Linked DNA regions of Homo sapiens: all the other regions are linked to region 4. Evidence: promoter capture Hi-C in 16 types of primary human blood cells and fetal thymus (Javierre and others, 2016). All regions are on one chromosome and are shown on one strand. Each heading gives the region's core, a stretch centred on a gene start or on the middle of the fragment in contact. The rest is flanking DNA. Distances are from core to core; before and after follow the strand shown.

Evidence for each region. Contacts are between HindIII fragments. The CHiCAGO score rates a contact against its expected background, and 5 or more counts as called.
Region 1: a contact is called between the fragment with the promoter of TMEM237 here and a fragment that was not itself captured in region 4, in 1 of 17 cell types (endothelial precursors). The highest score is 5.9, in endothelial precursors.
Region 2: the fragment with the promoter of TRAK2 here is called in contact with a fragment that was not itself captured in region 4 in 10 of 17 cell types (naive CD4 T cells, fetal thymus, non-activated CD4 T cells and 7 more); the score reaches 9.7 in naive CD4 T cells.
Region 3: the fragment with the promoter of CATSPERT here is called in contact with a fragment that was not itself captured in region 4 in 1 of 17 cell types (endothelial precursors); the score reaches 5.7 in endothelial precursors.

Annotation. Positions count from the first base shown.
Region 1 is chr2:201,642,253-201,645,491 of GRCh38, forward strand. TMEM237 (transmembrane protein 237) reads right to left here and starts at 1,251. Exons shown (of 13, transcript NM_001044385.3): 1 at 1,107-1,251. The coding sequence starts at 1,148. MPP4 (MAGUK p55 scaffold protein 4) reads right to left here. Exons shown (of 22, transcript NM_033066.3): 22 at 2,622-3,152. The coding sequence ends at 2,958. RefSeq lists silencers at 350-539, 1,110-1,369. The HindIII fragment of the contact is 8,699 bases long and covers 1-3,239 here.
Region 2 is chr2:201,449,802-201,452,978 of GRCh38, forward strand. TRAK2 (trafficking kinesin protein 2) reads right to left here and starts at 1,657. Exons shown (of 16, transcript NM_015049.3): 1 at 1,549-1,657. It overlaps STRADB (STE20 related adaptor beta), which reads left to right and starts at 1,939. Exons shown (of 12, transcript NM_018571.6): 1 at 1,939-2,137. RefSeq lists enhancers at 1,012-1,866, 1,270-1,799 and a silencer at 1,830-2,509. The HindIII fragment of the contact is 1,586 bases long and covers 1,199-2,784 here.
Region 3 is chr2:201,617,489-201,620,817 of GRCh38, forward strand. It overlaps CATSPERT (catsper channel auxiliary subunit tau), which reads right to left and starts at 1,690. Exons shown (of 16, transcript NM_001168221.2): 1 at 1,412-1,690. The coding sequence starts at 1,642. It overlaps TMEM237 (transmembrane protein 237), which reads right to left. Exons shown (of 13, transcript NM_001044385.3): 13 at 2,698-3,329. The HindIII fragment of the contact is 11,514 bases long and covers 1-3,329 here.
Region 4 is chr2:201,182,917-201,186,344 of GRCh38, forward strand. CASP10 (caspase 10) reads left to right here and starts at 225. Exons shown (of 10, transcript NM_032977.4): 1 at 225-392; 2 at 2,855-3,208. The coding sequence starts at 2,862. The HindIII fragment of the contact is 2,882 bases long and covers 47-2,928 here.

The sequences.
Region 1 (3,239 bases), core at 1-2,500, 460 kb after region 4:
CAAAAGGGTTAAATTTTAGACACTCTTGTAGTTTGTCCCATTTAGCAATCCATTCGTTCGAACAGTAGATTAATGCAAGTACTACAAGATTAGGACGAGGCAAGCTGCCGTAATACCATCCAGTAGTCAAAATTACAATTGGAGAAGAATGACAGTCACAGGAACGCGCTATTGTTCTAAAGATGCTACGAAGCGCGCGCGATCGATCCCAGGGCTCTGTTCACGTAACTGATTTCAAAAGTCCCGCAAAAATGACGTTCCACCCACCCAGAGACCCAACCTCTAATCCTCAAAAGTAGGACGGCTCAACTGAAGACAAAAATCCTAACAATTAAAAGTAGCTAAGGCTCGCTTACCACAGGATTCTTCCCCATTCTGCGTTTAGCCGGCCTCGGCGGCCGCCGGCCCCCAAGCACCTGGCGCCCCACCCCTCCCGGCTCGGTCGCGCGCGCAGGCGCAATGCGTCATCGGGCCGCGCCGCCTGGCTAGTACCCCGCGCGCAGCGCCCTGCGGGGATGTTGCGGTGAGAGGCGTGCAGGGACCTGGATTGGCCAGTCCAGACTAGCCCTGCCAAAAAGGGGGCCTCGGAGTTGGGGGTAATGTGCCCAGGAGCAGAAATCTGGCGACCGTGGCGCTGCAATCACAGCTTTCCCGTGGTTTCCTAAGTGGTGGCGGTGATTTGTTTGCGGGAAGCGGGGCGTGACGGAAGACCTTAATTAAAGGACTCCGCAGGCGAACAGATCTCTTCTGGGCAGCTACAGACCTCTCCTCGGAGGAGTCTAGGAGAGGCCTGGCTGGAAGCCCCGGCACCCGCCGGGCCCCGGGCCTCAGATGAGTGAGGCGTCGTCGTGGCAACGCGGGCTCAGGTCCCCGCAAACTTCATGCCAGGCCTCTCTCTCCCACTCCGGGAGTTCGGTCCCGGCCTCGCCTGCGTCTCCGTCCCATTCCTGTGAACACTGGAGGGGCGGATGCGCGCACCCCACGAGCAAGGCCCTCCCTTAGTGATTCCCAGCTCGTTGGCGCCCCCCCACACACACCCACCCCCACTGCCAAGTGTAGCTGTTTACCCGCCACCTCTCGAGGCCGACGCGCCCCTCGCCGCTCACCAGGTGGCCCTCCTCCAGCCGAGCCCCCGAGTCAGTCCTCATGGTGCTCTCCCCGCGGGGCTGCCCCGGCGCAACCGCCGGCGGCCCGAGCCCAGCTCCCCGCGACGCAGCGGCCTCCGGGACCTGTGGGACGCCGGGGCTTCGTGGCGCCTGGCGAGGCAGCCGCCCCCTGAGCCAGGTCCCCGCCCGCCTCTGTCCTGCCAGGCGCTGCTGGGTTTGGGAGGAATGCGTTTACTCTCCAGGACCAACGAGTCTGTGCAGGCCTGGGTGTGTGGATGTGTATTAATATAGGCAATTCTCACATTTTCTCCGATTGCTTACCCTTCATCCCACAACTGTGTAAATCAAATTTGGAAAAACTTTTTCTCAACCTTAAAATCAAATCCAACCTCACATAAATATCACTACAAACTACCTGATTTGCATCGTTTGGTTTGGTTGGGTTTGTTTTTTTTTAAAGATAACTTTCACTTTAAGTAACAGAGAACTACAAATATTTTGAATCATGCATTCTGTTTTACAGTTAAGAAAGAAATGGGAAAGATGGAAGAATGGTGTGGATATGGAGAAGAGAATGATGCAGAAGATGAACAGATACAGGGACAGGGAAAGCGCCTGGAAATCTCAAATCTGGGGAAAGAAAGAGAAACAGCACTTTGTAATGGCATCCTAATCTTGTTACCAAACAAACGGGGCTTGTTGCCCTATACGCACAGAAGCCAATATTATGGCGCTGATTTTTTGAGAAAAGTTTTCATTGTGAGTCAGCTAACAAGGAGACAGGAGTATAGCTCTAATCTGTCTCCCTGTGTTGGCTTTAAGACAGTATTTTTATTAGAAAACGTTTAGGGGGTGGATTCTGGGATTAGTAGGTGATTGGTGGAAGGAAAGAAGCCATCTGGAAAATCCTCTGGCGTTCGCAGTTACCTCTTCATGTCCCTTCATGGGTCGCATGTGCAAATTTTGGAGGGAGTCAGTGTGAAACATGGGGAAAGATTCAAGCTGTGACGCCAGCAAGCTCATTTTGTACAGACTCCAGGTAGCCATCCGTGTTAGTACTAACCACTTTCAGCCAGTTTGCTTTGTTTTGTTTTGTTTTGTTTTTTAATCTCACAATGGAAGAAGTTTAGGCGTTTTATTTAGCAAGTTGTTTTTTATCTGCCGTCCTGCATGCTCAAGAATTTCTGTTAGTCCCTGGTTTCTTTAACTCTGAGACACGGTTTCACTCTTGTGATTTTCTATATATAGGTCTCTGGGATTAATCCATTGCCTTTTTCTAATTTAGGCCTGCATGTAGATATTGGCTGTTAAGGAAAATTAGTGTTTGTCACACCTCTCATGAGAATAATTTTTTCCTTGTAGGCCGATTTGTAAATAGTGAAGGCAGTGCAGTTTCTTGTAGGTTTTGATTTTAGATGTGAAATGTGTACATTAAACCTTTCTTGCTGAGTTAGTCAAGTAAGCACTTTTTGTAAAAGATGTTTTCATAAAACACGTTTCATAGAGTACAGTTTCTAAAGTTAACTATTGCTTATTTTATTTAGGAAAGCTCTTTATTTAAATCTTAAAAAGATCATGTGAAATCTGCGAAAGGTTCTCATACTCAGTGACTTAACATTATTCATATTTCTACCACAGCTGCATATGAGGTAAAGGAAAAAAAATTAAGTTAAAATAGGTAACCACATAACCATACAATAAAAATTTTTTTCAAATAAGATTAATTAATAAATTGCTGCACTTTTAAAGTTGTACACATTAAAATGGGTCAAATACTGTTGTTTTAGATTGCAACTATGGATCGCTGTATCAAGGGTACAGTGTTAAAACTCCAGCATTAAACAAGAAGTCTCATTGAGACTCAGTATCTGAGGAAATCCATGTTGCTGGTACCCACTGAGGCTCCTCCTGAGCCTTCTGTATGGCAGACAACAACTGGGCACATGCATCGTGCAAGCTGTCATTCACAATCACATGATCAAAAAATTGGCCAAACTGAGTTTCCATTCTTTGGGCTAAATTTTCCATCTCTTGTAGGTCTTCATCCTTTAGGAGAAATAGAAAAATATGGATAGTACAGACTTAATTGGACAAATGGAAAAAATACAGTTTGTTATGCTGTCACATTCAGTT
Region 2 (3,177 bases), core at 407-2,906, 270 kb after region 4:
GCCCGGCTAATTTCTGTATTTTTAGTAGAGACGGGGTTTCACCATATTGGCCAGGCTGGTGTATTTCCTTTCAGTAGAGACGGGTTTCTCCATGTTGGTCAGGCTGTTCTTGAACTCTCCACCTCAGGAGATCTGTCCTCCTTGGCCTCCCAAAGTGCTGGGATTACAGGAGTGAGCCACAGCGCCCGGCCAAATGTTGGTTCTTTCTAACAAACCTCTTCCATCATATGAATAAGTGTGTAAGATAACAAAACACTGTCTTTCACATGGTATGTGCTTGCTAAATGTCTGAGACTTGCTGGACATTACTTAATTTTAAAAATAGAAAACTGGAGCTGGGTGTGGCGGCTCACGTCTGTAATCCCAGCACTTTGGGAGGCCAAAGCGGGTGGATCATGAGGTCAAGAGATCGAGACCATCCTGGCCAACATGGTGAAACCCCATCTCTACTAAAAACACAAAAATTAGCTGGGCGTGGTGGTGCGCGCCTGTAGTCCCAGCTACTCTGCAGGCTGAGGCAGGAGAATCGCTTGAATCCGGGAGGCGGAGGTTGCAGTGAGCCGAGATCACCCCACTGCACTCCAGCCTGGCGACAGAGCGAGACTCTGTCTTAAAAAAAAAAAAGAAAAGAAAGTTGGAATAACTGCTAGGATGATAAAATGTCTTCATCCCTGACCTTTCTCACCTCCAAATGTCCTTCACAATTTGTTTTTAAGTGTCATGTCACCACCATTAACCTGCTATTTGGAGACTACTGTACCTCAGACTTCCAAGTCAACAGCAAAGATCTAAAGGTCGGGAAGATTTACGGAGACCAAGAACTGAAAGTGTTCCTTTTGTTCCTATGGTCCATTCCATCAACTTGATGAATATCCTGTGAAGTTACCTTTTTTTTTTTTTTTTCTGACGTAGAAACAGCAGGTCTAAGCAAAAGGTGCATGAGCAAGAGCAAGTAACATCCCTATTATTATGACGCAGATTTTTTTTTAAGTTGAAATTCAATTTTTGGGCTGCTACTAAAAAGGACATGTGCGAATATCTATTATTTACGCTTCAAACTAAAGTCAGCCGTTTTTCTTTTTCAAGATATGTGGCATCTGGCTCAAAATCAATTGCAAGAAAAGCCCAACTCTATTTGACCCAGAAAGAGCTCTTTCCAATACCCTCTCCTCCCACTTACATCACAGATGGCGACTGAAGCTTAAGGTTTAATGCCCGACCCTAAAGCCACTCATCCTAAAAGACAGGGCTCCAGATGGATGCTGTATGGCAGAGGATAAGGCGCTATGAGAAGCTGCCAAGCCTCAGATGTGCAGCTGGGCTGAATACCGACGCCAGCGCCTAGCGCCCATTACTTTGCACCCACACTTAGGAAACAACCCACGCCTCACCGCGGGACCCGGACCCAGCCCTCCAGCACCCAGCCTCCGGCTCCGACGTCCGCGCGTGACCTCCGGGTACCGGAGGACCTTGGGACGAGGAGGTCCCTCCGCTTTCCGGGGAAGTTGTCAAGGGCAAGTTCGGGTTCTGCGCGGACAGCTTACTCACTGGAGTGGTTCGGCATCCTCTGTCGTCCGCCCGCGCTTCCTCAGGAAGCCCCTAATGCAGCGGCAGCCTGAAAGCAGCAGCCGAAGCTGCTGCCGCTGCTCCCACTGCCAGCAACCGCCCGGGCGTGGCAGGGACAGGCGGGCGACTTCACAACATCATCACTCGGCGACCTCGGTTCTGCGGCGACACCGGGTCAATGGCAGCCCCCACACAATTGGGGAAGCCAAAGGAGAGCCACTCTCCCAGCGGCCTCCACGGCCCCAGCGCAAGACCTGCTGGGAATTGTAGTTTCCTGCCCGCCCCGCCTCAAGCTCGAAGGCCCCGCCTTCTCGCTGCCCAGCCCCGGGGAGGGAGGCGGGGCCGCGACCCCGGCGCGGGTGGGGCGAATGCGTTCCCAGCGGGTAGCCTGGGACTGGTGCAGAGTTCCAAGCCCACGGCCCCGGTCGCGGCCTCGCCGCCCTCCCGCGCCCCGCGCCGGGAGCGGGCCTAGAGCGCTCGCCTCGCCCCTCCGCGAGCAGGGCTCTGGCGCCCGCCCCTGTCCGCACCGCTGGCAGCCTGAAGAGAGTCGCTGGCCGTGGTCGCCGCTAGGGTAAAGACGGGAGGCAGGCCCGGGAAGGGAAGGTGTCGGGGCCGGTGGGGGACGTGTGAGGGAGTGAGCCTTGGTCCGCGCACGCCCGGGAAGCCAGAGGCCAGAACGCGCTAGCCCACCTCCAGCCCGAGCACCGGCGGCTGGCGGGAGCCGTGGCAAGAATGCGGCCCGAGGTGGCGAGCAGCCACTGCGCCAGTGCAGCTCGGGCTCAGCGGGGCCCGGGCCGCGGGTTCGCAGCCCGCCCAGTGGTGCCTGCCGGGTTGGCCGTGCCGGCCGTGCCAGGTGCGCGGGGCCCAGGCCGCCCGGGCGCCCTCTCCCCGCACCCCTCACCTTTGGCCGCGCTCTCGGGCTTGGGGAGTTGCCATATCGAAGACACCCTCAGACCCCAGCTCTATCTGCCGCCTTCTGCAAGTTCGCTGCAAAGTCCCCCATAGCAGGACTAGGAAGGAACCTTTTACAAAATTAAATACTCGAGTGTCGTTTTGTCTTCGGTTTTTCAATTCAACGCTGTGTTTTTCCCTGCTGGGTCTTTGTCAAGTACCTTTTCCCCAAAACTTGATACGGATGTGTAACACGGCGCCTGCTTAGCACGGTGCCTGGCACCCAGTAGGCGCTCAGTAAAGATTTGTTGAACGCATGAGTCACTAAGCTTGGAAAATTCTCCTGAACTGTGCGTCGCTATGATCTTTGTTAAGATTTTATGGGTTCCCAAGATCACTTTGAAAATTACAGTAATTTTAAAGCTCAACAAAGAGTTACATCGGGTCATTTTTGCATTCCCTGTAACAGTGGCCTCTGTTGAATGCCTAAATTAACTCAAAACCCGTGTTCTAGAAGATGCGCCCTTTGGTTTCTACAGAAAGTGTTAATCTTTCAGATCAAAGTCTTCACATGAACCATTCTATTATGGAACAAACTGAAATTACTTATAAAGCTTTATCGTAATTAGCGTTTTGGATACAAGTGTAAGGGACTGCACTGATGTACTTGTGAATACGAAATATAAGTCTCTTAAATATGACTTTTTTTTAAGAAAGGGT
Region 3 (3,329 bases), core at 440-2,939, 430 kb after region 4:
AAAACTGGCTCGCCATACGTAGAAAGCTGAAACTGGATCCCTTCCTTACGCCTTATACAAAAATTAATTCAAGATGGATTAAAGACTTAAATGTTAGACCTAAAACCATAAAAACCCTAGAAGAAAACCTAGCCAATACCATTCAGGATATAGGCATGGCCAAGGACTTCATGACTAAAACACCAAAAGCAATGGCAACCAAAGCCAAAATCGACAAATGGGATCTAGTTAAACTAAAGAGCTTCTGCACAGCAAAAGAAACTAGCATCAGAGTGAACAGGCAGCCTACAGAATGGGAGAAAATTTTTGCAATCTATCCATCTGACAAAGGGCTAATATCCAGAATCTACAAAGAACTGAAACAAATTTACAAGAAAAAAACAAACAACCCCATCAAAAAGTGGGCAAAGTATATGAACAGACACTTCTCAAAAGAAGACATTTATGCAGCCAACAGACACATGAAAAAATGCTCATCATCACTGGCCATCAGAGAAATGCAAATCAAAACCACAATGAGATACCATCTCACACCAGTTAGAATGGCAATCATTAAAAAGTCAGGAAACAACAGGTGCTGGAGAGGATGTGGAGAAATAGGAACGCTTTTACACTGTTGGTGGGAGTGTAAACTAGTTCAACCATTGTGGAAGACAGTGTGGCGATTCCTCAAGGGTCTAGAACTAGAAATACCATTTGACCCAGCCATCCCATTACTGGGCATATACCCAAAGGATTATAAATCATGCTGCTATAAAGTCACGTGCACACATATGTTTATTATGGCACTATTCACAATGGCAAAGACTAGGAACCAACCCAAATGTCCATCAATGACAGACTGGATTAAGAAAATGTGGCACATATACACCATGGAATACTATGCAGCCATATAAAAAGGATGAGTTCATGTCCTTTGTGGGGTCATGGATGAAGCTGGAAACCATCATTCTCAGCAAACTATCGCAAGGACAGAAAACCAAACACTGCATGTTCTCACTCATAGGTGGGAATTGAACAATGAGAATACTTGGACACGGGGGGGGAACATCACACACCACGGCCTGTCGTGGGTTGGGGGGAGGGAGGAGGGATAGCATTAGGAGATATACCTAATGTAAATGACGAGTTAATGGGTGCAGCACACCAACATGGCACATGTATACCTATGTAACAAACCTGCACGTTGTGCACATGTACCCTAGAACTTAAAGTATAATAAAAAATAAAAAATAAAAATAAAAAAAAGGAATTGCTATAAACGAAAAAAAAAAGGATTAAAGGGTTCAATGTGTGCCAATTGAAGGGAGATGCAATTGGCACACATTGAACCCTTTAATCCTTTCACCACCCTCCAGGTGCCCTGCTGGCCCCGGTCCTCCAGGTGCCGGCCAGGCCCCCGCTCACTCACGTTCAGCAGCCGGTGCCCGGTGCCCTCCTGGTTCTTGTTCTTAGGCAGGGCCGTCGTGCCCTGGTTCAGGGCGTAAGGGACCGAAGAAGCCTCCGACCCTTTAATGTGCATGATATCCGGGCTGCTGTAGGGATTCCTCTGCAATAGCGGGGTGGCGGACAGGACTTGGACCTGCCCGCTGCGGTTATCAAGTGTGCTGAAAGGCCTATTTGTCTCTTGGGGTGGCTCCATCTCTCCATCTTCTGCGGCCTGTCTGCGCCCAACCGACGGCCCGCTACTGCGCAGGCGCGGCCCTCCCGCAGCCTTTCTCACATTTTCCCAGCGCGTGCGTGCCGCCTAGTGACCCACTCAGGCCGGGCCCATGCTGGGAGTGGCTGGAGGCAGCTTTGGAAGCATGCGTGCTTAGCGAGCCTGGAGGGTCTGCTGCAAGCACTTGCCAGGCCATTTCAGTCTCCTTTAGAAGGAAATCAGAGCACGCTGGTGGAGAGCAAGGCCCCTCATGGGGCCCAACCACTTTAGTTCACTGTCTTGTCCGCCCTGTAGCCCTCACGAGTCCTTTTCTCCCTGCACCATTTCTTTCTAGAAGATTTACAGTGTCAGTCATTACTTCCTCTACACTGTCCCGTGAGCTCCAGACGTTAAATATCCAACAGTCTACTTTGACATCTTTACCCAATTGTTCCACAGACACATAACACGTTAATATTCATCTTCCCTCTTAAACCTCTAGTAGGTTCCAAACTCATTTGGTGCAGCAATGTCATATCCACAAAATCTTAAACATTCAGACACATTTTAAAATTCTGACCCTAAATATCTGAATCTTACTTACCTTTTCCCTTTATGGCACCTAATTTGGGACAACACACACACGAGACAATTGCAATGATTTACTCATGGGTCTGCCAACCTGCTGTCATCCATCCCTTTCACTGCCCCCGTATTAGTCCTTTGCAGTAACGAATGGAGCTGAAGGCCATTATCCTAAGCAGACTAACACAGGAACAGAAAACCAAATACCACGTTCTCACTTATAAATGCGAGCTAAACAATGAGAACACATGGACACAAAGAGGGGAGCAACAGACACTGGGGCCTACTTGACGGCGAAGGGTGGGAGGCGGGAGAGGATCAAAAACTACCTTTTGGGCACTAGGCTTATTACCTGGGTGATGAAATAATCTGTACACCCCCATGACACAAAATTTACCTATATAACAAACCTGCACATGTACCCTTGAACCTAAAAGTTAAAAATATAAATAAATGCAAACAGAACAAAACCAGAGAATTCCAGAACTTCTTTATTGTACATAAAAATCTGAATTTCTTAATATGGAAACCAAAGGTCTGCAAAATGTACTCTCCTAGCTCAGGATCATTATTTATTCCTCTTATTTTTGGAATCTATTCTTCTTTTATTCAAGGACCAACTCAAAGGTCAGCTTTTAGTTAACTCTTATATCCCCATACACATATCCTAAAGGCAGAGTTAACTGCTATATCCAAGCTACTTCTTGGCATATCCTTGTCAGCCTAAATAACAGAGAGGGAGACTCTCTGAAAGAAAATGATGTTTATTCAGGAGTAGGCATTGCAATAAGAATACAAGTGCCACAGTAAACTATGTGCATATACAGGGAGGTCAAGGAAGACAACGGTTTTTAAAGCAAAAATGATTGTTTTGAGAGAATTATCCTTGGCTACAAGGATCAATAACAAGGATGTTGCCAGTTGGACATTGGACAGGGAGTTGCTGGGCAAATGTCCTCATAGAAGTATTTTTTGTGTGTGTCAGGTTGTGATGGCCTTTGTGCAAGGTGTGGTTTTGTGCAGTCTTTTAATGATAGTCCTCATTATCAGACATCTGTGCATGAAAATCGTCCTTTCACGGCCTTCCCCAGCTCTATTTGTTAGG
Region 4 (3,428 bases), core at 238-2,737:
GGAAAGCCTGAAGCACTTTGTGGCTTCCACGGGTTCGTTTCTAGGAAGCTTTTGCTTTACCTGGGGAAACCCCAAGCTCTACAGTGAGAAAGTTGTAAATTAGCCTTTAGGAGACGCTGTTTGTCAAAGTTATCTTAACCCTGGAAAAGGGGAGGGAAAAAGGCAGATAAGCAGTGATGACATCAGCAGGAAACTAGTATCAGGCTACCCAGTCCTGAAGATTCAGTTTTCACTTAAACAACCAGCAAGTCTTGAAGTCTCTTCCCAAGCAAATGGGAGCTTCTTTGGACCTTGGAGCACACAGAGGATTCTACTTTCTTTAAAACTTTGTTTTCAGGCAATTTCCCTGAGAACCGTTTACTTCCAGAAGATTGGTGGAGCTTGATCTGAAGGTATGTAATTAACAACCCTTCTTACTCCAGAGTCTCATGCTTGAATCTTTTCCTTTGCTTCATGGCTTCGTGTTGTAGAAACTTGCAAAAACTTGTCAGCAATGGCACTATTTTTTCTTAGATTTCTTTGTCATGCCTGGGAAAACAAAAGTTAAAAAATCCGGAAGCCTCCAACATAGCCTTTTACCGGGGCAGAAATATGTTAGCTCACAGAGACAAAGTTTGGTAGACTCACTAAAACTAGAGATCAGAATTGTCAAGAAACCACAAGGCAAATGCTAGATGCGGTAGAATAGAAAGGTGTCTCCAATAAACCACTCATTTGACCTCAGGGCTAGTAGCAGGGAAGATCCCCTGGATTATCACATTAAAAATGACATTTTTTTGTTTCTTTTAACACCAAAAGTAATGTGTATGCTCACATATGCATAAAATTTGAGAAATTCAATTGGAAGCCCAGAAGGAAATTTGTATTATCTATAGTTATGTCACCTCGATATAACCACTGTTTGTTATGGAGGTTTTGATTTTTGCTGTGTCTTCCTTCCTTTATTTATTTATTTATTTATTTATTTATTTATCTATTTATTTATTTGAGACGGAGTCTCCCTCTTTCACCCTCCAGCACTCAAGCTGGAGTGCAGTGGCACAATCTTGGCTTACTGCAACTTCCGCCTCCCAGGTTCAAGCAATCCTCCCATCTCAGCTTCCTATGAAGCTGGGACCACAGGCATACACCACCAAGCCCAGCTAATTTTTGTATTTTTTGTAGAGACGGGGTTTCACCGTGTTGCCCAGGCTTGTCCCGAATTCCTGGCCTCACAGTGATCCACCTGCCTCAGTCTCCTGAAGTGCTTCTCTGATTATAATGAAATTTAGTATGTAGAATACCATAGTTTATAGACTAGTCAGATGGAAACATTGACTCATGTAATTTTTATCTTCCTTCGCTGATTTGAGCAACTCTTGTCTAAAATCACCCTTTCCTTCTGAGGTCTAGGAGGTTTTTTTGTTGTTGTTTTGTTTTGTTTTTGAGGCAGGGTCTTGCTCTGTCACCCAGGGTGGAGTGCAGTGGCACAATCATGGCTCACTGGAACCTCCATCCCCGGGGCTCAAATGATCCTTCTGCTTCAGCCCTCTGAGTAGTTGGGACCACAGGCGTGCACCACCATGCCTGGCTAATTTTTGTATTTTTTGTAGAGATGGGGTTTTACCACGTTGCCCAGTCTGGTCTTGAACTCCTGGCCTCAAGTGATCCACCCGCCTTGGCCTCCCAAAGTGCTGGGATTATAGGCGTAAGCCATGACACCCCACCTGTTCCTTCCTTTATAAAGTATTTTCTTGTTTCTAAAAATAGCCAAGTTCTGCATATTGACTACATACCTCAAGTGCTTATAGAATAAATAGTATTACAATGAAAATTTTATCACTGCATTGCTCCTCTGATTATGATGAAATTTAGTATAGAGAATAGCATAGTTTATAAACTGATCAGATGGAAACATTGACTCATGTAATTTGTTTTTTTTTAGTGAAAACAAGTTTATTAGAGAAGTAAAGAAACAAAAGAATGGCTACTCCATAGACAGAGCAGCCGACTCATGTAATTTTTAACTTCCTACACTGATTTGAGCAACTCTTGTCTAAAACCACCCTTTCCTCCTGAGGTCTAGGATATTTTATTTATTTATTTTTCTTTTTGAAACAGGGTCTCACTCTGTCACCCAGGGTGAAGTGCAGTGGCATGATCATGGCTCACTGCAACCTGTGCTCCCCAGGCTCAAATGATCCTTCCATCCTCGGCCTCCTGAGTAGTTGGGACCACAGGCATGTGCCACCATGCCCTGATAATTTTTTGTATTTTTAGTAGAGACCAGGTCTCGCCATGTTGCTCAGGCTTGAGGTCTAGGATTATGCCTTCCCTTTCTGTAAGATAAAGGCCTGCCCTCTTACAGGTAGCAGTCTGAAGTTAAGATGTAACACACATACCTCACGGTACCTTGCTGTCTTTGGGTTGATAGATCATAAGGATAACCCTGCCTCCCCCAGATTGCTTTGTGTCTAAAACTTAAAGCATAGAGCCAAGTGCTATTTCTGCCACGTGCTGGAAATGAATGTAAGGGCTCCAATCAGGCTACCAGGCTTGAGAAAAATTGTGCTGTGTCCCTCCATCTTAACTTTCTCTCTCTGGGAACATTTTGATTTGGGAGAAATCAAGGTGAATTGAATTCCAATATAAGCACCCTCCAAGTTTCCTAAAAAGTAACTTGCAAGTGTTGGGGAAAAGTTTTCTGGGCTGTTGCTTTTTGAAGTAGCCTCGCCGTAATTTTTATTTTTCAGCACTTCTAGGAAAGTCTAATGCCCAGAACGGAGAAGGTTGTGGTGAGGGGAGGGCCTGGGAAGTCAGGGGGCCATATGTCCTCACTCTCTAACTCCCTGCCCCACCTCTCTGTCCCTTTCAGGCTGGCCATGAAATCTCAAGGTCAACATTGGTATTCCAGTTCAGATAAAAACTGTAAAGTGAGCTTTCGTGAGAAGCTTCTGATTATTGATTCAAACCTGGGGGTCCAAGATGTGGAGAACCTCAAGTTTCTCTGCATAGGATTGGTCCCCAACAAGAAGCTGGAGAAGTCCAGCTCAGCCTCAGATGTTTTTGAACATCTCTTGGCAGAGGATCTGCTGAGTGAGGAAGACCCTTTCTTCCTGGCAGAACTCCTCTATATCATACGGCAGAAGAAGCTGCTGCAGCACCTCAACTGTACCAAAGAGGAAGTGGAGCGACTGCTGCCCACCCGACAAAGGGTTTCTCTGTTTAGGTGAGGACGGGTCTGTGGTGGAGATGGGAGGATCTCCCATCTAGTGTTCATTCTGGCCATTGGGCTTTGAAAGGAAGCTGCAGTTAAGATCTTTTGGTTATCTACCTCCTTGGATGATAAACCAGGAGATTCTAAACCTCCTTCTCAGCCTCTGATGCTAATGAGATAAGAGTTGGGAGGTCAGCAAAGCTTCAAGACCAAGCCCTGGGCCCAGAGGTGG